Regions from separate parts of the Homo sapiens genome. Here regions 2, 3, 4, 5, 6 and 7 are each linked to region 1. Evidence: promoter capture Hi-C in 16 types of primary human blood cells and fetal thymus (Javierre and others, 2016). All regions are on one chromosome and are shown on one strand. The core of a region is centred on a gene start or on the middle of the fragment in contact, and the rest is flanking DNA. Distances in the headings are between cores, read along the strand shown. Region 1 holds the start of ALOXE3 (arachidonate epidermal lipoxygenase 3). Region 2 holds the start of DVL2 (dishevelled segment polarity protein 2). Region 3 holds the start of EIF5A (eukaryotic translation initiation factor 5A). Region 4 holds the start of NEURL4 (neuralized E3 ubiquitin protein ligase 4). Region 5 holds the start of TMEM256 (transmembrane protein 256). Region 6 holds the start of SPEM1 (spermatid maturation 1). Region 7 holds the start of SPDYE4 (speedy/RINGO cell cycle regulator family member E4).

What was found. Contacts are between HindIII fragments. The CHiCAGO score rates a contact against its expected background, and 5 or more counts as called.
Region 2: the fragment with the promoter of DVL2 here is called in contact with the fragment with the promoter of ALOXE3 in region 1 in 6 of 17 cell types (activated CD4 T cells, naive CD8 T cells, total CD4 T cells and 3 more); the score reaches 9.6 in activated CD4 T cells.
Region 3: the fragment with the promoter of EIF5A here is called in contact with the fragment with the promoter of ALOXE3 in region 1 in 1 of 17 cell types (total B cells); the score reaches 6.7 in total B cells.
Region 4: a contact is called between the fragment with the promoter of NEURL4 here and the fragment with the promoter of ALOXE3 in region 1, in 2 of 17 cell types (activated CD4 T cells and non-activated CD4 T cells). The highest score is 8.1, in activated CD4 T cells.
Region 5: a contact is called between the fragment with the promoter of TMEM256 here and the fragment with the promoter of ALOXE3 in region 1, in 1 of 17 cell types (erythroblasts). The highest score is 5.5, in erythroblasts.
Region 6: the fragment with the promoter of SPEM1 here is called in contact with the fragment with the promoter of ALOXE3 in region 1 in 1 of 17 cell types (naive CD8 T cells); the score reaches 5.1 in naive CD8 T cells.
Region 7: the fragment with the promoter of SPDYE4 here is called in contact with the fragment with the promoter of ALOXE3 in region 1 in 8 of 17 cell types (neutrophils, M0 macrophages, total B cells and 5 more); the score reaches 19.7 in neutrophils.

Annotation. Positions count from the first base shown.
Region 1 is chr17:8,117,014-8,119,870 of GRCh38, forward strand. It overlaps ALOXE3 (arachidonate epidermal lipoxygenase 3), which reads right to left and starts at 1,501. Exons shown (of 16, transcript NM_021628.3): 1 at 1,473-1,501; 2 at 831-1,290. The coding sequence starts at 977. TRK-TTT3-5 (tRNA-Lys (anticodon TTT) 3-5) reads left to right here and starts at 2,142; the gene lies at 2,142-2,214. TRQ-CTG1-5 (tRNA-Gln (anticodon CTG) 1-5) reads left to right here and starts at 2,739; the gene lies at 2,739-2,810. RefSeq lists enhancers at 667-1,866, 1,588-1,667, 1,748-1,817, 1,968-2,067 and silencers at 2,588-2,637, 2,768-2,857. The HindIII fragment of the contact is 2,695 bases long and covers 119-2,813 here.
Region 2 is chr17:7,233,159-7,236,015 of GRCh38, forward strand. It overlaps DVL2 (dishevelled segment polarity protein 2), which reads right to left and starts at 1,359. Exons shown (of 15, transcript NM_004422.3): 1 at 911-1,359. The coding sequence starts at 1,104. PHF23 (PHD finger protein 23) reads right to left here. Exons shown (of 5, transcript NM_024297.3): 4 at 2,772-2,857; 5 at 1,880-2,682. The coding sequence ends at 2,468. RefSeq lists a silencer at 1,097-1,396 and an enhancer at 1,507-1,556. The HindIII fragment of the contact is 14,867 bases long and covers 1-2,857 here.
Region 3 is chr17:7,306,142-7,308,998 of GRCh38, forward strand. It overlaps EIF5A (eukaryotic translation initiation factor 5A), which reads left to right and starts at 1,487. Exons shown (of 6, transcript NM_001970.5): 1 at 1,487-1,611. RefSeq lists enhancers at 1-612, 484-783, 613-1,423, 2,654-2,857 and silencers at 1,334-1,443, 1,804-1,973, 2,064-2,183. The HindIII fragment of the contact is 13,725 bases long and covers 1-2,857 here.
Region 4 is chr17:7,327,930-7,330,786 of GRCh38, forward strand. NEURL4 (neuralized E3 ubiquitin protein ligase 4) reads right to left here and starts at 1,406. Exons shown (of 29, transcript NM_032442.3): 1 at 1,102-1,406. The coding sequence starts at 1,383. RefSeq lists enhancers at 679-1,338, 1,321-1,615, 1,551-1,730, 1,761-1,810, 2,691-2,840 and a silencer at 1,111-1,350. The HindIII fragment of the contact is 8,367 bases long and covers 1-2,857 here.
Region 5 is chr17:7,402,666-7,405,522 of GRCh38, forward strand. It overlaps TMEM256 (transmembrane protein 256), which reads right to left and starts at 1,432. Exons shown (of 4, transcript NM_152766.5): 1 at 1,335-1,432; 2 at 993-1,024; 3 at 645-725; 4 at 310-544. The coding sequence starts at 1,419. The coding sequence ends at 401. TMEM256-PLSCR3 (TMEM256-PLSCR3 readthrough (NMD candidate)) reads right to left here and starts at 1,466. Exons shown (of 10, transcript NR_037719.1): 1 at 1,335-1,466; 2 at 993-1,024. It also overlaps a transcript of NLGN2 not described here. RefSeq lists an enhancer at 1,241-1,420 and a silencer at 1,911-2,240. The HindIII fragment of the contact is 6,317 bases long and covers 1,140-2,857 here.
Region 6 is chr17:7,418,865-7,421,721 of GRCh38, forward strand. It overlaps SPEM1 (spermatid maturation 1), which reads left to right and starts at 1,460. Exons shown (of 3, transcript NM_199339.3): 1 at 1,460-1,664; 2 at 1,763-1,823; 3 at 2,017-2,768. The coding sequence starts at 1,521. The coding sequence ends at 2,741. It overlaps NLGN2 (neuroligin 2), which reads left to right. Exons shown (of 7, transcript NM_020795.4): 7 at 1-996. RefSeq lists an enhancer at 944-1,463. The HindIII fragment of the contact is 12,172 bases long and covers 1-2,857 here.
Region 7 is chr17:8,757,035-8,759,891 of GRCh38, forward strand. SPDYE4 (speedy/RINGO cell cycle regulator family member E4) reads right to left here and starts at 1,512. Exons shown (of 7, transcript NM_001394956.1): 1 at 1,240-1,512; 2 at 228-458. The coding sequence starts at 1,348. The HindIII fragment of the contact is 1,936 bases long and covers 37-1,972 here.

The DNA of each region.
Region 1 (2,857 bases), core at 251-2,750:
CGGGGAACTGCCAAGGCGGTCCTTGCGCCTTGCAAGATGCATCTACACCTAAGCCTATTCGGGCATACAAACCTGAGCTGCTCCCAGCCCATACCGGGCTTTTGTATGAATTAGAAAAAGCTTCCCCGGGCCGGGAGAGGTGGCTCACGCCTGTAATCCTAACACTTTGGGAGGCCGAGGCGGGTGGATCACCTGAGGTCAGGAGTTTGAGACCAGCCTGCCCGATGAAACCGCTTCTCTACTAAAAATACAAAAAATTAGTCGGGCGTCGTGGCAGGCGCCTGTAATCCCAGCTACTTGGGAGGCTGAGGCAGGAGAATCGCTTAAACCCGGGAGGTGGAGGTTGCAGTGACCTGAGATCACACCACTGCCCTCCAGCCTGGGCAACAAGAGCAAAACTCCATCTCAAAAAGAAAAGAAAAAGGTGCCCGAGCACAGTGGGCACTGCATTTCACTAGCTTCCTAGGCCGGCTGGGAACTCTTGTGGAGGCCACCTGGGGCTGGCAGAGGCAGGCAGATCCCCTCGATAAGAGGAAACCCAGGCTCAGAGAGGGGAAGCGACTTGCCCAAAGCCCACGGTCAATTATGGGAGGAGTTTAGGAGCCAGGGGAAGTCCCTCTACTCCCTGTCCAACGCTCCTTCCTCTCCACAGTCCTGCCTGGATGGAGTTCATCATCTCCAGGAAAGACAGGGACCTCAATAGGGAAGGTGAGGAGGTCAGGGCCGGTATCCTGAGTTCAGCAGGATCTCAAGAGTCCAGGAGGAATACTCCTCCCGCCTGCGGCCCCTGCCCCTCTGAGGTCGCGCTTCCCTGTCTCCTTTGTACTCACCGATCCAGGGGCGAAGTCCCTGCCCATTCGATCTAGCCGCTGCTTGGGGCTTTCACCACACGTGCCCACCAGTGTGACAGAGATGTTGTCCAGTGTGCCGGCCCTCAGGTAGGGACCAGTGGTCACACACAGGCGGTACACTGCCATGATGGGAAGGAGGAAGGGATGCCCCGGCAACGCTGGCCGCAGCAGCAGCCGGCCTGGAGGAGAAGAGCGGCACGCCGGACAGGGCTGGGTTTCTGGGCGGAGGGCTAGGGGCTGCGGGGCTGGGTAGGGCTGAGGATGGGCCCAGCTCTCTCTGGGATGTTCCTGGGCTTTCTCTCTCCGAAGCTCCCTGCTGGCGGCTCGGGCTTCCTCTCTCCGCCCACAGTCTTGCACTCTAATACTTGTTTGCTTGCCTCTGACACAGCCGGTCCCTCTGGCTGGCTCACCCAGATGGATATCAGGAGCCTGGGTTCCACTGCGGAGGGAGGGATCAGATGCTGAGATGGAGAAAAGGAGGTAACGCCTGTATAATTGGGACACTGCCCTCCGCCTGGTCAGCGGCCCGGACTGATGCCCTGGAGTGCTTGTCCGCCCACTCCCCAATGTCCCCCAAGATCTGTTCCTCCCCATTCCCAGGCAGAGATGAGCACAGGGCACCTGCATTCCTACGTGTGAATCATCCGTGTGAATCACTAAACAGTGGAGAGTTGCACTTGGTCATAAATCACACGTGACTGCAGCCACACGCAGGTGAGTCGCACACGCATTCCAGCACATGTCAAATGGTCAGGAACAGCTCCCTGTCACCCCATACACCGATCCCCCCACGCATGGCCCTCTTTGTCCCCAGCCTTTGGCACGCCCGACCTCATTCTCTGCTCTGGAGTAGGGCAGGTCAGGAAAGCGAAATACAGCGCCGGCAAACAGGGTCTGAATGCCCCGCGTGGCATTCTTTCCGCTCCAGGACCGCCCTGGGCCTGCAGGATCCTGGGCGGGAGCCCAGGTGTCCGGGATCTGGGCCACTAGGGACTGGGGAGGAACCTCTCAGAGAAGCCCATAGCCCGCAGCGGCCCCGCGCGGCCGGTTCCGGCGCCGCACTGTTCCAGCCTCTACTATGGTACAGTCCCTGCGTCGCAGCCTCGGCGGGGGCTCTAAGAACGGGAGGCAGAAAAAGCTCAATCAGCAGCAGGCGAGCTTCACCCGCTGCTTCCAAATCTGTGCCAAAATATTCTATGCTGCACAGATAAAATCCTCTGTCGGTTCTACAAGCCTGGCTTTTCCTATAGAGAACCCTCTTATAAGCAAAAAGTAAAGCTCTCGTGAAGAGCCCGGATAGCTCAGTCGGTAGAGCATCAGACTTTTAATCTGAGGGTCCAGGGTTCAAGTCCCTGTTCGGGCGGCATGTCTTTGCTTTTGGGTACCGCACTTCGCATAAAATGGTAACAAAAATAGTTACTAGTTTTTAAAGCTAGGTGATACAGAAACTTGATTTCCACAAAATACAGCAAACGACGGTGGAGGGTAATAAACATACTTTAAAACAGTACAAACGCGAGCCGTATTATCGAATTTACATTTTCTGGTAGCCACATTACAAAGAATAAAAAGCAAGCGAAATTAATTTCACGGATCTATTTTACTTACCCTAATATACCAAAATCTTATTTTAACATATAATCAACATTCTAAAAATATTAATGAAATTTTAAGTCTTTTTGTTTGTACAAAGCCTTCCTTCAAAAGAAGATGTGTATTTAGAAGCTGGCAATACATCTGAATTCATATATTTCAAGTGCTCGATAACGGTGTCTACCATATCCAACAGCAGACTTTGTTTTGTTTTCGTTTTAAGTGACGGGTGTGGAAGACACGCAAAATAGAATGTCCAGTAATGTACACAATCTTGAAAGACACCACGAGGGAGGTTCCATGGTGTAATGGTTAGCACTCTGGACTCTGAATCCAGCGATCCGAGTTCAAATCTCGGTGGAACCTTGAAGCTTTTCTTTTAATATCAGCATGTTGAATATTGTTAATTGATT
Region 2 (2,857 bases), core at 109-2,608, 880 kb before region 1:
GGGCTTTCTCTGCATTATTTACACGCCAATCTAGTCCAAGATAGCCCTGAATGTCCCAAATTACCCTAGGATAGCCCAATCTATTCTAGCACAGCCTACAATGCCCCCACACGCAGCTGTCTGCACCAGTCTAGATTGGAACATCCCAATACGGCTGCCTGTGCTAGCACAGGCCCCAACAGCCTTGTCTGCCCCTATACCGAGTGCTCCAATAAAACCAAGTCTTGCCCCAAGAGAAACCAGGATTAACCAATACAACCCAGTAGAGTCCATAATGGCCCAAGTGTTTTTTGTTTTTTTTCTGAGACGGAGTCTCGCACTGTCGCCCAGGCTGGAGTGCAGTGGCGCGATCTCGGCTCACTGCAACCTCCGCCTCCCAGGTTCAAGAGATTCTCCCTGCTTCAGCCACCCAAGTAGCTGGGACTACAGGCGCGTGCCCCCACGCCCGGCTAATTTTTTGTATTTTTAGTTAGTAGAGATGGGGTTTCACCGTGTTAGCCAGGATGGCCTCGATCTCCTGACCTCGTGATCCGCCCGCCTCAGCCTCCCAAAGTGCTGGGATTACAGGCGTTACAGGACTCCTGAGAACGTACTAAACAACCAGACAATGGATCAATTTACTCAGTACAGACTAGAATACTCCAACATAAACCAGTATGCCCCCACCTATTCCAGTAAAGCCTAATCTTGTCTAATCTGGTTTAGGATATCCTAGTCTGTCCGTGTGCCTCAATCTATCCAAGCATAACCTTGTCCATCCTGGGATAGTCAACCTACCTCAGCATAGTACAATCTGCTCCACCATAGGCCAGAAAATCCCAGTGTGGCCCAAAGTAGACGTGTGCCCCTCCATGTCGCCCAATCCACTCTAGCAAAGCCCCCGCCGGTCCTATCTAGGCCTTGCGCTCACCCGAAATCCTGATCCATAGACTTGAAAAAGTACTTGGCGCCCGCGGGCCGCTGCAGGACGCTCTTGAAATCGCCGAGGGTGATGCGCTCGGCGGGGACAGGGATCTTCACCAGGTAGGGAGTCTCTTCCTCATCCAGGTGGTAAATCACCTTCGTCTCCCCAACCCCACCGCCCCCAGTGCTGCTACCCGCCATGGTCTCGCCCGCGCGCTCCCGGGCTCCACCGCCCACCCAAAGGGCTAATGGCCCCTGCCGCGCCTGCGCACACCCGCAAACCGACGCGCGAGCGCGGACAGGACTGACCCAGTACGGGAGAGAAGCAAAGGGGAAAAAGCACGGATCTGCGAGGGTGGCGGCGGGGGGCGGGCCGCGGGGTGCGACTCAAAGCCCCGGTCTCAGCGGCCGCCGCGCGCCACCGCCACCGACGCCGCGAGCTTCCTCCAGGTACCCGCCCACCTCTCCTCATGTCACGTGACTTAAAGGCAGCCACCCCGCGCTCCTCAGCCGCCCTCCGTCACGTGATCCCCTCCCAATCACGTGACCGTCTGACTCCGCCTAGTGCCCCCGCCACATGATCGCTGCCTTCAGCAACGGTCTCCCAGCCCCCAAACGTGTACCCCAGCCGAGGTCCTCTGAGCACCCAGGCTAAGCTGGCCTGTGCCTTCAGGAAACGGACCATCGGCTCCCACCCCGCTTTACCCCACCCACGATGGAGCACGAAGCAACTCTGACCCGCAGGAGTGTGCGTGCAGGGAGTGAAGGTGGGGACTGTGGGGGTTCCTAGACTCGAGTGGGGAGGGCCAAATACAATGAAAGCTCTAAGGTGGCTTACTTGTCTTGGGGTGGGAAAGGCCCAGTGCTGTGATATCTTCAGATTGGACTTTGAGACGTGGGTTTCAGCCCCACCTCCAGCTAGTCTTCAGCCACCAAAGCCTCCCTCCCGAGCAGGACAGTGAGGGCTATAAACACAAAAGAGCCCACTCTGCTTTATTTACAACACGCAGGCTGTCTGTACAAACAGCGGCCGATATTATTAAAAACAAAAGAGGTGAGTGAGAATCGTCACCTTTCTGCTTTCCTTCCTCACTTGGCCAGGCTCTAGTACTCCACCTTTGAGCTGCCATGCCCAATAGGGGAAGTCCAAAATTAAAAATACAACCGGTGTAGAAGAAAATAAATGGGGAGTGAAATAGAAGAAAAGATGAGGGAGGGGAGTGCTAATATTTACACTAGAGTTTTATAGACAACTGTCCCATTCCATCCCAATTCCAATCCTGACCCAGAAAGTGATGGTGGCAGGTCCAAGAGACAGAGATTATGTGTCGGGACACAGACAGCCTCCCATCCCCAACCGTAATGGATTCAATTTCAAGTCCACAGAGTGGGGAGGAAGGATAGGGTGGGAAAGTGAGACACTCATTTTCAAACAAGTCTCCCTTGAGAATTCCTGCCTTGAAGTGCAGACAGTATCCAAGCTCCAGGGGATAGGCTGAGGACCCTGAGGCTCAGTTCCCAAATCATGTTGTCATTTGGAAGTTCCAGGCTAAAGTTGGTGCCATCAGGGCTCTCCAGATTTGGGAGGCCCCCCTAACCGCCGGGCCTCTGGCCTCAGTTCCTTGCATTTCTGGCAATAAAAGAAGTCGGGGACGTTGGTCTTCTTAATCTTAGCACAGGAGAGGTGGATCCACGTCCCACACAGGCTGCACTCAATCATGGGCCGCCCTGCAAAGGGCTTTCGACAGTAACATGTGATCAGATCCCATGAGTCATCACCTGGGGAAAAAAAGGTTTGTTTGGTATTCTGCCTGAGCTGTTGGATCCACAACACCCTCAAACCCCTCGCCCCAGCCCGAACCTCTCACCTGATTCTACCATGATGTCCTCGTCCATGACCCGCATCTCGCCTTCACTGGAGCTGGCATCTCCATCTTGGCTTGTTTCAGTGCTG
Region 3 (2,857 bases), core at 237-2,736, 810 kb before region 1:
GGCTGGAGTGCAGTGGTGCGATGTCGGCTAACTGCAACCTCCGCCTCCTGGGTTCAAGCGATTCTCCTGCCTCTGCCTCCCGAGTAGCTGGTACAGGCGCCCACCTCCACGCCCGGCTAATTTTTTTGTATTTTCAGTAGAGACGGGGGTTTCACTACGTTGGCCAGGCTGGTCTTGAACTCCTGACCTTGTGATCCGCCCGCCTCGGCCTCCCAAAGTGCTGGGATTACAGGCGTGAGCCACCGCTCCCGGCCTACCACTATTTTATTTTATTTATGTATTATTTATTTATGTTTTTGAGACTTGAGTTTCGCTCTTGTTACCCAGGCTGGAGTGCAATGGCGCAATCTCGGCTCACGGCAACCTCCACAGGAGAAGCGATTCTCCTGTCCCAGCCTCCCGAGTAGCTGGGATTACAGGCATGCGCCGCCACGCCCGGCTAATTTTGTATTTTTAGTAGAGACGGGGTTTCTCCATGTTGGTCAGGCTGGTCTCGAACTCCCGACCTCAGGTGATCCGCCCGCCTCGGCCTCCCAGAGTGCTGAGATTACAGGTGTCAGCCACCGCGCCCGGCCCACCACTCATTTTTATAGACAATTTTTTCTAAGGGACCTCGTAGACAATACTTTGGGGAACCGCAGAGCACAGTTGGGGAAAACACAGTAATACCATCTAAGTTTCTTTACTGAGGACCTCAGAGCCGAATGGCCTCTATGGATGCCATAGAGACCAATACGGACTGAGGGTTTAAAGAAGATGGTGTCCGCCGCAGGACCGCTCTATCTTCTCGGGTGAACTCTATGGCAGAGCATAGGCATTCGATTTAGAGAAGTGAAGCCGAGATGGGTGGGAACCCGACCACACTAGCGCGCTAGAAGAGTGGGGCGGAAAGACATCTCCCGCGCATGTGTGGAACTGGGGGGACTGATTCCAAGACAAGGCGCCCACCCCACAGAGCAAGTTTTCTGAAACGTGTGAGTCGTTTAAGTCCAGTTAAAGCCGAGGTGGGGCGTATCCTGAGACGCATGCGTTCTAGACGAGACAAGTGATCTAGCGGCGTGGTCTTTTCAACGCCTGGCGTACTGACGGCGTCTGAGGTGGAAGGGGTTGTTTAGGATTCCGAACACGCATGCGTTCTGAGACCCAGGCGTTTCCTTTAGAGGGTGTGGAGTGCAGGGCTCCTTATTGCGCAGGCGCAAGGACTGCCCGGTAGGACGAGCGGTCTATCAAGGGGAGGGAAGATGAGGTTGAAGAGATTAAAAAACCGGGTGCGCCTGCGCGTTGCAGATTAGTTGAAAACGCTCAGGGTTTGTGAGGGGCGGGGTCACGTATGCGCGTCATTGGACGGGTCGGTGGGAGGGAGGGTGGAGATGGGTAGGGTGTGTGCGCTTGCGCAGTGCGGGGGTGGAGGGCGGAGGAGATAGATAGCACGCTTGCGCGGCTGTCATAGGGCTGCTTGGTTGGTCAGTGGGGAGTCGGCGCCTGCGTACTAAGACCCGTGTGCAGCAGCGGCGGCGGCGGTAGAGGCGGCGGCGGCGGCGGCAGCGGGCTCGGAGGCAGCGGTTGGGCTCGCGGCGAGCGGACGGGGTCGAGTCAGTGCGTTCGCGCGAGGTGAGAGCGGGCAGGGCGCGTGTGCGCGGTACCTTGGCTTGGGCCCGGGAGAAGATGGAACTGCGCGGGGGTCGGGGAGGGGGCAGAGGGGAGCGGCGGCCGCCGCCGCACGGGTTCGGCCAGAGAGCGGCGCGAGGTGAGGAGAGGCGCGGGCGCGCGCCCCGGTTGGCGCGCGGGGTGACGGTTGGGGTTGGCCCGGTGACGTTGGAGCGACGCAGGGCGGGGGACGGCGAGCCGCGAGGCAGCCACGCGGGAGAGGCCGCCAGGCGGCCACGCCGGGGCGAGGGCCAGGGGCCAGATCGGCCCACCGGGGCAAGGGTACCTGGGCCGTTGAGGACCCGGCTCAGCGCGGCCACGTGAGGTGGGGGAGGGGGCTATTCGGTGAGAGGGCATGATGGGGGGGGTTGGCGGACGGCCGGGGGGAGGGGAGGCGGCGTGGCTCCGGCCTGGCGCAGTCTCTGAGGAGGGGGCGGCCGCGGCACCGGAAGTGCCCCCCACGGGAGGCTGCCCTCGGGGTCGCAGGCCGCATGGCCAAGCGTGGACCGGGGCCGCATGGCAGCGCGGGGACCCCTCCCCCCAGGTCCCGGCCACCGGAAGCCCGGAACGGCCACATGGTCGGCAGGAGCCGGCAGCCCCTAGCGCGGGGAGCTAGTCCTCGCGGGGGTTCCGAGGGGGCCTGAGATTTTGAGGAGTGGAAGCCGGAGGCTCGGGTCCTAATCACCCCGGAGGGCCTGCTGCAGGCATATGTTAGCGCTTCCCAACCTCAAGGGCCCCAGGAGCTTTCCTGAAAAACCCTCCTGTGAAGTGTGGCGGTCAGCCAGGTGTAAGTGGCACCCCTTCGAGCTGGGAGGCCGGAGAAATGGGGAAACAGGGCGTTTGGACAGGAGCCCAACTTTTCTGTCGGCCTGGGTGGACAGCGCCTAAAAGCCTCAGGCAGATGAGTTTCCCACCGTGATAGGCGTTCTTCACCTTGTCACTGTCTTCCTGTTGTAACTGGTTTGGGAGTTCCACGGTTTCGAAGTCCTTAACTCTACTAGCCTAGTATGATTTTCTACTACTCACTACTACCAACCTTTTGCTTTCATTTTATTGTCATTCACCACCCCCCACCTCTCCCACTTTCTACTGACTGTACTGGCCCGGCCTGAAAAGCCGACAGGACAGATGCATCCTGGGAAAAGTGGGAGGGCCTTCCAGGAGAGGCTGGGTTCCTGGGTTCTCTTTGGGAACCAAGATCGAGGTGTTT
Region 4 (2,857 bases), core at 156-2,655, 790 kb before region 1:
ATTCCACAGGCCACCATATCTTCCCACCTCTCAGACAGCTAGCTGGCTTTCTGTCTCTTGGAACACTAATCCAGAGATGCAGACAGTGATTTTCTGGACTCCGTCTTGGTAATTATTTGGGCTTTCCTTTAGCAACTCTGCTCTCTACTCAGTGTTTACTAAACCACTCCTTTCCAAGCCAAGCACAAATTCCTTGGTTCCAACCTCCTGCCTCCTCTAACTTTCCTTGTCTCTATGGCTCTCCAACCATCCAAATTCTCCTACTTCCTATACCCACACCTCTTGCTCTTGTGTATCATTCATTCCTTTCCCCTGGCCTAATTCTCTCCAAAGATCAGGCTCTACCCAGATTCAATCTCCTTCCAAGTTCTTTTTCTGTGAGCCTGGCCTCTTCACTGAATCACACACACCTCCCTCACCCTGGATCTTTCTCCTCACCTATCTTTCTGGCACAGCCTCTGTCCTTCAATGGTTTGTTCTGTTTTTTTGAGACGGAGTCTCACTCACTCTATTGCCCAGGCTGGAGTGCAATGGCATGATCTCAGCTCACTGCAACCTCTGCCTCCCGGGTTCAAGCCATTCTCCTGCCTCAGCCTCCAGAGTAGCTGGGATTACAGGCGCACGCCACCATGCCTGGCCAATTTTTGTATTTTTAGTAAAGACGGGGTTTCACCACGTTCACCAGGCTGGTCTCAAACCCCTGACTCTAGTGATCCGCCCGCCTCGGACTCCCAAAGTGCTGGGATTACGTTTGTTCGTTCCTTGGCATCTTTCTTCACTTGCCATCACATCTCTGACATCTCTCCATCCTCCATGCCCAAGAAATTGTACCAGGAGGTCTGTTCCCAGCCATTCTAGTGGGTTAGCCCTCGTGTCCCTTCCCTGGTTCTGGATCTTGAGAAAACTCAAGCTCTTAATGTCATCTTCAAACTCAATGTTTCTGCTTCATGCTGTCTTCCTGACCGCCCCCTGGTGCTCTATGGTCTTTCTGTTCCCTCTCGGTGCCCGGCAATGTGGGCTACCCTGGCTGTCCTACCCCGTCTCCCTCTAGACGCCTCCCACCACCCTCCACATCTCTGTTCCGCGGTACCAGCGCTGCACCTTGCGGTCGATGCGGACGGTGAAGACGCGTCCATCGCGCAAGGGTTCTCGGCTCAACACCAGCCCGTGGTTAAACTCCTGGCCCGGCTGCTGCCGCCGCGCCGTACGCCCACAGGCCGACAGGCTCACCAAGCGCCCAGTGCGCGGGTGCAGTTCCCCGCCGCTGCCCAGACCCCCGTTGGACCCCGGTCCTGAGCCGCTCCCGCTGGGGCCCCCACCCCCGCCCGGCCCCGGTCCAGGGCCTCCCCCAGAGCCCCCACTCCCACCCGACCCTGCCGCCATCTCCGCTGACACCGGGGCAGCGCGACAGCCGCGCTTGGCGGCACCGTGGCAACCGCGTCGGGCAGACAGTCCGAGGGATACGACCGGGGGGCTGAGGCCAGGTATGCTTTACGGCACTGCCGGGCAATGAAGCAGCCCGCGCTAGGAGCTGGGGACGACCACGATGAGAACAGAAGGACACGGGGTCGGGAGCCTCGCTTTACGGCATAGCGAGGTGACGGAGCGGCTCCGAGGGGGACGAAGACCTGGGCAGGGAGCTTTTGCGACAGTGGGAGAAAGACACGCCCACCGCAGGCATCTTTACGACGGTGGGGTGCTGGAGCCCAAACACTTTCTGCTTTGCGACAGCGGCACCGACGACCCCGCCCTCGCTAGGGGGCGGTGACACCTTGAAGCACTCGCTTTACGGCAAGAGGGGGTGTCTCCCCTCGGGATGCAGGCTCCAAAGCAGCGTGAGCCGAGTCTGGAGGACCCAGAGAAGCGGTAGTGAAAGTCTCTTCCCGCCACCCGACTGAGGACGAAGTGTCTTGCAACAGTGCGGCAGTCCTTCCACTTTGCCTCACACCTCTTCTGATTGGCTGAGCTAGCCGACTGGCGGGGGTGGGGGAAGCTCGCTGATAGTTCAAGTCAAGCCCAGCTTCAACTCCAACTCAACCAAACTATTCCATGTTAAGACCACAAAGAGTCTAAAGAAGTCCCGACAGGCCGTTTCAAGCGACAGCGTTGATGACCCCAAAAGATCTCCCTTAGAGCTATTAACAAGCCCCCTGCCCAACTCCCCGAAGCTCAAGCTCAGGCTGGAGGACCGTGAGGTCACAGTCGAAGCTCCTGGCCTGGCCCCCTGACTGGGATTGGCTGGTTTGGATGAGGGTGGTGATGGAGAAGGGCGGGAACAAATTGCCCAGACAAAGAAAATCTTTGGGTGGGACACAAAGGAAAGGGGCGAGCGGAGGGACCCCCAGCCCGAGTCTCTATATAGTCTTGATTCCGCCCGCCGCAGCTCTGGAGCAGGGGAGAAGTGGACCCGGGACTGAGCCCGAGCATCCCCGGCCGGCAGCGGTGGGGGCGGGGCCAGGGGCGGGGCTACGTGGAGCCGGGAGGCGGGTCAGGATCGCTGAGAGCAGCCCCCCAGTGGGGCCATGGAGAAGGTGGAGTCCCTAGGGGCTGCTGGCGGCCTCAACCGGGATTCCCCTGGAGGGGCAGCCAGAGGAGTGCCCGCAGCGGTCACAGGAGTCGAGGCAGGCGCTGGGCAGCCCTCCAGAGTAGTCTTGTTTCACGGTTCTGGGCCCCACGTGCACTCAGGGGGCTCCGTAACTCATAGTACTGGTTCAAGCTGTCCCTCCGGGGGGATAGTGGTCCTTGGTTCCGGGCCCAGTCAGCACCCAAGGGAGGCTGCGAACCACAGCCTTGGGTCTGGCAGGAACCCTGGTGGATTCAACATCCCCGGGCCTCGAACCAGTGTATCCAGGGCTTC
Region 5 (2,857 bases), core at 182-2,681, 710 kb before region 1:
CATCTCAAAATAATAATAATAATAATAATAAAATTAAAAACCTAGTATGCATCAGAACCACAAGATGAGCTTATTAAAATACAGATTCTCAGGCCCGAAAGAGTGCTTCAGTAGGAATCTGTGTTATTTCAAGCATTCTTTATGACTTTGATGCCCACCAGGGTAAGAACATTATAATAAGTTAACTTAAAGTGACCAGAATCCCCAGACCTAAGGCTCACTGATTAAGTCTTAGGAAATGGAGGGAGTTCAGAGGTTGAATCCCCACCCTTCGTCCTCCAAGAGGTTAGATGAACAAAGACTCCAAAGTTTATTTGCCTTTCCTTTTTAATCCTCTTCTTACTCCAACTCTTTAAAAAAAAAACTGCCCAGAAAACCCAGTAATTAAGCAAAAGGGAGCTCAAAGAGCCAAGGCAAGCCAGCCCAAGAGTAGCAGGGTCCCTCCCGCAGGGGCCAAAGTCTGGATGCTGGGGTCTCCACTCAGAGCCTGGTAGTAAAAGCTGGTGCAGAATAAGGTCGTTCCGGAAGCTAGCAATAACCCAGCCTGAAGGAGACACAGCACAGAAAACAGGATTGTTAAGAACAGGGCAGGCTGAGAGGGAGTGTGTGGGGCTTGGTCAGGGTTAGGCGCAGGGAAAGATTACCCAGAGTGGCTTTCTGCAATGGGGCACCCCTAACAGGGCCAGGCTGTGTAAGAAGTGGTGTTTGTTGGCCTTGTCAAACAGCTGTAAGAAAAACAGAAACGAAGGGATGTCGTAGGCAATACAGGTACTGAGATCCCCTGATGACACAAGGGACCAAAGTTCCTTCCCCCACCCCACCCTTGAAGTCCCAGCTTGATCCCAGGCCTTTGGCTTACAGAGCCTTTGGCCTTTGCTGCTCCAGAGATCCGCGGCTCGCCCCACCCTCTCCCCGCCCACTTCCCCCAGGGACCCCAGACTTTGTGCCTTCGTAGACCCACGAGTCAGGGAGCCCCAGCGCAGTTACTTCACCTCCTTCCCGTAGGCATCTGGGAATTGGGCGCCTGTGGAGAAAAGAAGCAAAGGTTAGCGGTCCTAGTGCCAGCCCTGACCGCCCCCAATCCGGGGGGACCCAGGTGGACATTGGCGAGAAAGGGCACCCCCCCCCCCGCCCCAGGAAGCTTCCGATTGGTGGGAACACGCTCGGGCAGTACTGGGAACCAATTGGACCCAGCTGGGGGACTTTAAAAGGTTTAGGGCTCCGCGGACTGTCTGATAAACGAGAGGCCGGGCACCTCCCATAGGTTACGCCCTTGCAGCAGACCCCAGAGGACGCCCCAAGTACAGTCCCATCTTCGTCCCCAGCCCCCTGACCGTGCGCCCCGTAGGAAGCGAAGCCTAAGGCCGCAGCTCCGGACAAGGCGCCCAAGCGGCGGAAAGCTGCAGCTGGCCCGGCCATAGCTGTAGAACAGGACGCACCGGACCAACGCCGCCCAGGCCACCCAAGAGGCCAGCCAATCCCGACCGCCCATGCAAATAAGGTTCACAGGCGCCCAATCCGGGCCGTGTTCATTTCAGCATTGCGCTCTTCACCCGCCTTTGTAAAACCGCTGCAGAGTGGCGAAGACGTCTGGCGGGCGGAGAAACCAGCACCAATTAGGAACAGAGGAGCTAAGCAGTGGGGGGGCGGGGTTGAGGGCGGGACTAGGGGGATTTGCGTCAAGGATTGGCCCACTTTCCAAGTTGATCGCCTCTTCGAACCCCCCACCCCCATGCTCCGGCCAATTTCCAAAGATCCCGGTCTTCTCTCAAAGTTCCGCCCCTTTTTCCACAGGCTCCTCCTGTTCAGCTTCAAATCAAACCCACTACCAAAAAGAGGCGGCCCGAAAGATAGCAAAGCCCCACCTATTGCCAGTAAACCCCGCCCACTGCACAAATGGCCCCTCCCCCATGTCTGAAGGCTCCGCCTTCTTTGTATGATGCCCCGCCCCCTGTAGTTAAGATATTCTCCCCCCCGCCAGCCCTCCGAGACCGCGAGAGCCCCGAGGGTGGGAGATCCGGGGGAATGTCTCCACCCTGCCCTGGCCCGCTACGTCCATCTGTCCGTCTGTCCGCTCCCGCCTCTTCCCACCATCTCCAATCCCCCCATTCTCCGGAGGGCGGGCGGGCAGGCGGGTGCGAGCGGGGGGTGCGAGCGGGGGGTGTGCGCCGCTCTCTCGGCAGGGGGCGGGGGAGGCGGCCGCGCGGTGACGCGCGGGGCTGCTGCGGCTGCTCCGCCGGCGGATCATCACTCTCGGGCTGGGATGGACGCGGGGCGGGCCGGCCCTGGCGCGCGGAGCCAGGAGTCCGGGCCTCCCGGCTGCTGAGCGTCCCTCGAAGCCTCCCCTCACCCCCGCCTTCCCTCCTAGGATCCGCGCTGACCCCCGCCCCGGGGCTCTGGACTCGGCTCCCGCCCTCCTCTGACTCCCCGGACCTCCCCCTCACGCCCGCCCTCGGGATCGACTAGATCCCTCCCCCTCCCCGAGGATTCCGGCTGGATCCCTGCCCCTGCACCGCGGATCCTGCGCTCCCGGGCCCCGGGCCCCTGGGGATTAACGTGGACTCCTCCTCCAGCACCCGATCCTTAGGATCCTCCGCCTGGACCGCCTTCTGGTCCCTCGAAGCCGGCCCACGGAACCAGCGGATCCTCAATCTAGTCCTGTCCCGTTGCCCCCTCCTTTCTCTATCGTCCCTACTGCGGGGTTCCCTGTTCTCGGGCTCCCCCTGATCCCATCCCCTAGCTCTCCTTTTCCCGGGGATCGACTGGATCCCGGCCCCGCCCCCCGGGGCTGGGGCGATCCCCCTCCCCCGCCGGGTGAGGCGCTGCGGGCGGGGGCTGGGCCTGCGGGGCCGCGGGG
Region 6 (2,857 bases), core at 210-2,709, 700 kb before region 1:
GTGCCAAACTGGGTAGGTGGATTTGAGCGGAAAGACTCCCAAAATGTGCCAAGAATTTCCCAGTCCCAGGCAGGGCAGGGGAAACTAAGGGCAAGCAGGATACAGGGCGAGGGATGTGGCAGGTGAGGGGGCTCCCGCCTGTGCCCCTTCTCCTCACCATGTCTCCCCCACCCTGCCTCAGTTCTCCGTTCCCCTTCATCTCCGTCCCCCTCTTTGAAGCTGTCCCCATCTCAGTGTCAGACCAGCCTTCTCCTCAGCTGACCACCCTCCTCTGACCCACGCCCCCTCCTTGTCTGAAAGAAAGGAGCCTTGAATGGTGGAGGGAGGCAGTGGGGAGAAAGGTCTCACCGGACAGGTTGGGAGAATGAGGTCAGCGGTGCTGGGGAACAGATGGAGGGGGCAGTGGGGACAGGGCTTGGGCAGACACCAGCAGGAATAATTTGAAATGTGTGAGGTGACTCCCCGGAGGGCCTTGGGCTTGGGCATTTGGGAAAAGAATGATGTCTGGAAGGGCTTAAGGGACACAGTGGACGAGGGGAGAGTCCTCATCTGCTGGCATTTTGTGGGGTGTTAGTGCCAAACTTGAATAGGGGCTGGGGTGCTGTCTTCCACTGACACCCAAATCCAGAATCCCTGGTCTTGAGTCCCCAGAACTTTGCCTCTTGACTGTCCCTTCTCTTCCTACCTCCATCCATGGAAAATTAGTTATTTTCTGATCCTTTCCCCTGCCTGGTCTAGCTCCTCTCCAAACAGCCATGCCCTCCAAATGCTAGAGACCTGGGCCCTGAACCCTGTAGACAGATGCCCTCAGAATTGGGGCATGGGAGGGGGGCTGGGGGACCCCATGATTCAGCCACGGACTCCAATGCCCAGCTCCTCTCCCCAAAACAATCCCGACAATCCCTTATCCCTACCCCAACCCTTTGCGGCTCTGTACACATTTTTAAACCTGGCAAAAGATGAAGAGAATATTGTAAATATAAAAGTTTAACTGTTGGTTGTGCCTGCTCTGTTGTGGGGAGGGCGGTCTCTAAAGAAACAAGCCCTGGGGAAGTGACGAGGGAGGAGGGGTCTTTTCAGTGACCAGCTCTGAGGTCTGAGAGGAAGGGGGAGTGTGTGCTGGGGTCTGGTTGCCATGGTAATGGGTCTGTTTGGCAAATGAATGTCAGGACCCGTGTCTATGCCGAGACTGGAGCCTGGTGTCGTTCTATAATGGAAGGACAAAGGCTGATGGGGGCAGATGTCAAACAGGCCAGAGGCCCAGTGGGCTGGTGTAGGCAGCTAGCTCAGCAGAGGTATGTGAGGTGAGAGGCATGGCCTCTGCCAAGGCCTGGACTCAGGCGAGAGGGTCAGCCACGGGTCCAGGACTCAGGGTAGCCCCTTGGCACACTGGAAGGGAGTGGCCTGGCACCATTGTGACCCGTTCACTCCCAAGACCCTCAGGGACAGGCAGGCAGTCAGTGGACACTGTCGGCACGGTGGGCTGGGGGCGTAAGGGCCCCGGTGGTCCTAGGGACCCCATGGCCATGGTTGAGCGGCCGAGGCCCGAGTGGGCCTCGTATCACAACTGCAACAGCAACAGCTGCCAGGACCTGGGCAACTCTGTCCTGTTGCTGCTGGGCCTCATCATCTGCATTAACATTAGCATCAATATAGTGACCCTGGTCAGGGTGGGGCCAGATGGGAGGGAGCTGGTGGGATAGTGGGGGGCAGGCCTGCCGGCCAGGGCCTACCTGGGATCACTGTGTCTTCCCCCACCTAGCTCTGGAGCCGATTCCGTGGTGTCTTATACCAAGTGTTCCATGATACCATTTGTGAGAAAGGTAAGAGGTCTGGGGGCTGGGACATAGGAGGGGCAGAAACCAAGTGCTCTAGCCTCAGCCCTAAATTAGCCCCTTCCCTTCTTGCTCGCCCCTCTCAGACAACATAGCTGTGTGGCTGCCCTTCCTGGGCCCTGCCTCTCCATGCCTGTAGGAGCTGGCCTCCCCACTAGTCTCACCTCTCCCCCATCCACAGAAGCTCCCAAGTCATCATTACTCAGAAAGCAGACCCAGCCCCCTAAGAAGCAGAGTTCTCCTGCAGTCCATCTTCGGTGCACCATGGACCCTGTGATGATGACTGTGTCCCCGCCCCCAGCTCACCGCCATCGCCGTCGAGGCTCTCCCACACGCTGTGCTCACTGCCCAGTAGCTTGGGCTCCTGACACTGATGACGAGAAGCCTCATCAGTACCCAGCCATCTGCTCCTACCACTGGGATGTCCCTGAGGACTGGGAAGGCTTCCAACACACTCAGGGGACCTGGGTTCCCTGGTCTCAGGATGCCCCAGAGTCCCCTCCCCAGACCATCCGCTTCCAGCCTACCGTAGAGGAAAGGCCCCTCAAAACAGGCATATGGTCCGAGCTGGGCCTAAGGGCCTATGTGTATCCTGTGAACCCCCCACCTCCCAGCCCTGAGGCTCCTAGCCACAAGAACGGTGGGGAGGGGGCGGTGCCAGAGGCAGAGGCGGCTCAGTACCAGCCTGTCCCAGCTCCCACCCTGGGCCCAGCAGTCATCCCTGAATTTTCCCGGCACCGCTCCTCAGGCCGAATAGTGTATGATGCCCGGGACATGAGACGGCGGCTTCGGGAACTGACCCGGGAGGTGGAGGCCCTGTCCGGCTGCTACCCCCTAGCCTCTGGATCCAGCACTGCCGAGGAGACAAGCAAGAATTGGGTGTACCGTTCCCTAACTGGGAGGTGACTGGAAAAAAATAAAAAGGAGAGAGGAGGTGATCTGTGGTGGTGCTGGGGTGCCAGGGCCCACACAGCACCTAGAAGCTGTGGCTGTGAAGAGAATGCTCTCCCTAGCCACAGGGC
Region 7 (2,857 bases), core at 262-2,761, 640 kb after region 1:
TCTCAGGCATGAGCCACTGCACCTGGCCAGAAACCAAGCTTTCTTATTTCAAGTGCAGACCTTTATTAAGACTAGCCTAATCCTCTATCTCCTAAGCATCCTCCTCCTGCATGGAGCGCTCATCCCCCAGGAGGGCATATTCTTCTTATTGGGAAAGTGTGATTATTGAAAGATTCCACTTTTTTAAAAGAACAGGGTTGGAGGTGCTTTTTGGGGTATCCTCCTACCAAGGAGCCTGTTGAAGGCCTCGTGGTGCTCAGGGAGCACGGAGGATGCTCGCTTTCGCTTCAGCTTCATCTTGAGCCCACACAGCGTCTCCACCACCCAGGTGTCCTCGGGCTCAGGGGCGCGCTCCAACTCCAGCTCCTCCTCCAGCTCCTCCTCGGATTCGTCTGACCATTCGCTCTTCCTTTTCAGGCCAAGGGATTGAGGCTGGGGGCTGGGATCTATCCAAGGGGCTGAGTGAAGAAACCAGGCCATGGTGTCATGTTTCTGCCATTGATCACCTTAGACGCCCCGACCCAGGAACCTCAAACTACTCTTCCATCCTCCCAAGCCTCGCAGACTGTCAGCTTCTCCAAGCCATGTTTCCACCTTTCTCCTTTGCTGATCCCCATCTGCCTCTCCCTCACCTCCCCATTCTTCCGGCTCTCTGTCCTCAAAACATTTCCTCATCACAGATAAGAACTTTCAATTGGAGAAAAATGGAAACCTTCCCTTGAGCTCTGTCTGCTCTCTCTCTCTCTCTCTCTTTTTTTTTTTTTTGAGATGGAGTCTCCCTCTTGTTGCCCAGACCGGAGTGCAGTGGCACAATCTTGGTTCACTGCAACCTCCGCCTCCTGGGTTCAAATGATTCTCCTGCCTCAGCCTCTTGAGTAGCTGGGACTACAGGCACGCACCACCATGCCCAACTCACTTTTGTATTTTTGGTAGAGACAGGGTTTCATCGTGTTAACCAGGATGGTCTCGATCTTCTGACCTCGTGATCCGTCCGCCTCGGCCTTCCTCTCTCATCTTTTGAGCACATCTCCTGACCCCCTTCATTGCTCCCCAGACTTTCTTTACACGTGGCCATGCTTGGCCCCATTCCCTGCACCCTCCTTCCCCGATCCCTGGCTTCCTGAGTCCGTCGTTTCTTTCCCACACACCCTACTCAGGTGCTTCAGATTCCCAGTAACTGGCCCCCTTCCCTCTCCTCAGTCAATCATCTCCCATCGCTTCTCCCTCCAGTCACCTCACCTGATGGTCCTGGCACTTCATCATCCACCACCACCTCGGGGGACCGTACCGTTGTGCTAGGCTGGGGGCTCTCCTCCTCAAACGGGGGGCGCGCTTGACCACTGGCCATAATCTCTCCCAAACACTTTGTTTCTGTCCACAAAACCTAGTCCCTGTTCTGTCCAAAGCCTTCTTCCAGACTCCGTTAGGACCCAGAAGAGTGCGTTTCTCTTCTAGAGGCTCGGGAGAAGTTAGGAGTGAAGAGTAGTTCTGAGAAGTTGCTGTTGTCCACCTGAACTCCCAAGCAACCAGAGTCCGGTCCTTCCAATCAGGAAAGTCGGAATCTCTGATGTCATCGGTCATTCCAAACTGGCAACTACTTTGAAGAAAAACACATGTAACTGCCAGACTGATCTCTTTTCTTGGAGATCCGGGGTGAACGGTATCTCCTGGCAATGTCCCAACCTCTGAGCATTGTCCAAAAGCATCCTCAGGGTCTCCACATTCCTCTTTTCCCTGTCCCAGCAGAGGCTGTGTCCTCTCCACTCTAAACTTGAGGGGGTGTTGGGCTCTCCTCCCCGCTTCTCCTTCCCATTTCAGAGTCTAGTCTGGTGAGAGAGGGAGGAAGGTGGAAGGAAATTTAGGGTAAGCAGAATGATGAGTCCTTCCAAGAGTGAGATTAACATATACAGGAGATCCTGGGTAAATTGACTTGTTGAATGGAGACGTTACGTCGAAGTACTCAATGTGGCAAAGCTTTTTTGCTGAATGTTTACTGATATTCACTATCCTGGATCCTATAGTAGGGGAACATGCATCCTTTGCTCTCAGGCATCTTTGAGTCCAAGAGACATTTTGAGGAATGAAAATCACAGGAGACTGTCCATGGTTTCGTACAGATTTTCAATGGTGTCCACAAGTTCAGGGCATCCATGGATCACCTAAAGCCTGCCCTCCAGTTCAGCTAAGGAACTCTGGTCTATATATCAACTATTACAACATATCTATTTCACTTGACCCCAAAATTTGCCTACTATTTATGTATTTTATGAATAAAATATCCTGTGTATAAAAAGACTAAGGGGAAAATCTCAGCCAGGCCCAGGGGCTCCTGCTCATAATCTCCCTCCTTTGGGAGGCCAAGGCAGGGCGTCACTTGAGGTTAGGAGTTCAAGATTAGTCTGGGCAACATAGCAAAACGTCATCTCTACAAAATATAAACAAAGTAATCAGGAATCGTGGCACACACCTGTGGTCCCAGTACTTGGGAGGCTGAGGCAGGAGGATTGCTTCAGCCCAAGTGTTTGAGGCTGCAGTGAGCTATGATTGCACCACTGCACACCAGCCTGGAGGACAGAGTGAGACTCAGTCTCAAAAATATTTTTTTCGGAAAAAATAAAAATGTAAGAGCTGGATACTATCTCAGATACCATCCAAAGAACCTGTGAGTTCTGGCACAGCTTCCTAATGGGCTCCTAGGAGTCTCTCGCTGATGGGAAAGGCACAACTGAATGAGGAGGCAGATCCCGTCGCTGTGGAAGTCCAATTGTTAGGAAACTCTGCTTACATTGAGTGGACCTTCGCATTCACGATGCTTTCAACCATCAGAACTGGTTGGATCCTTTTACAACAAAACAGA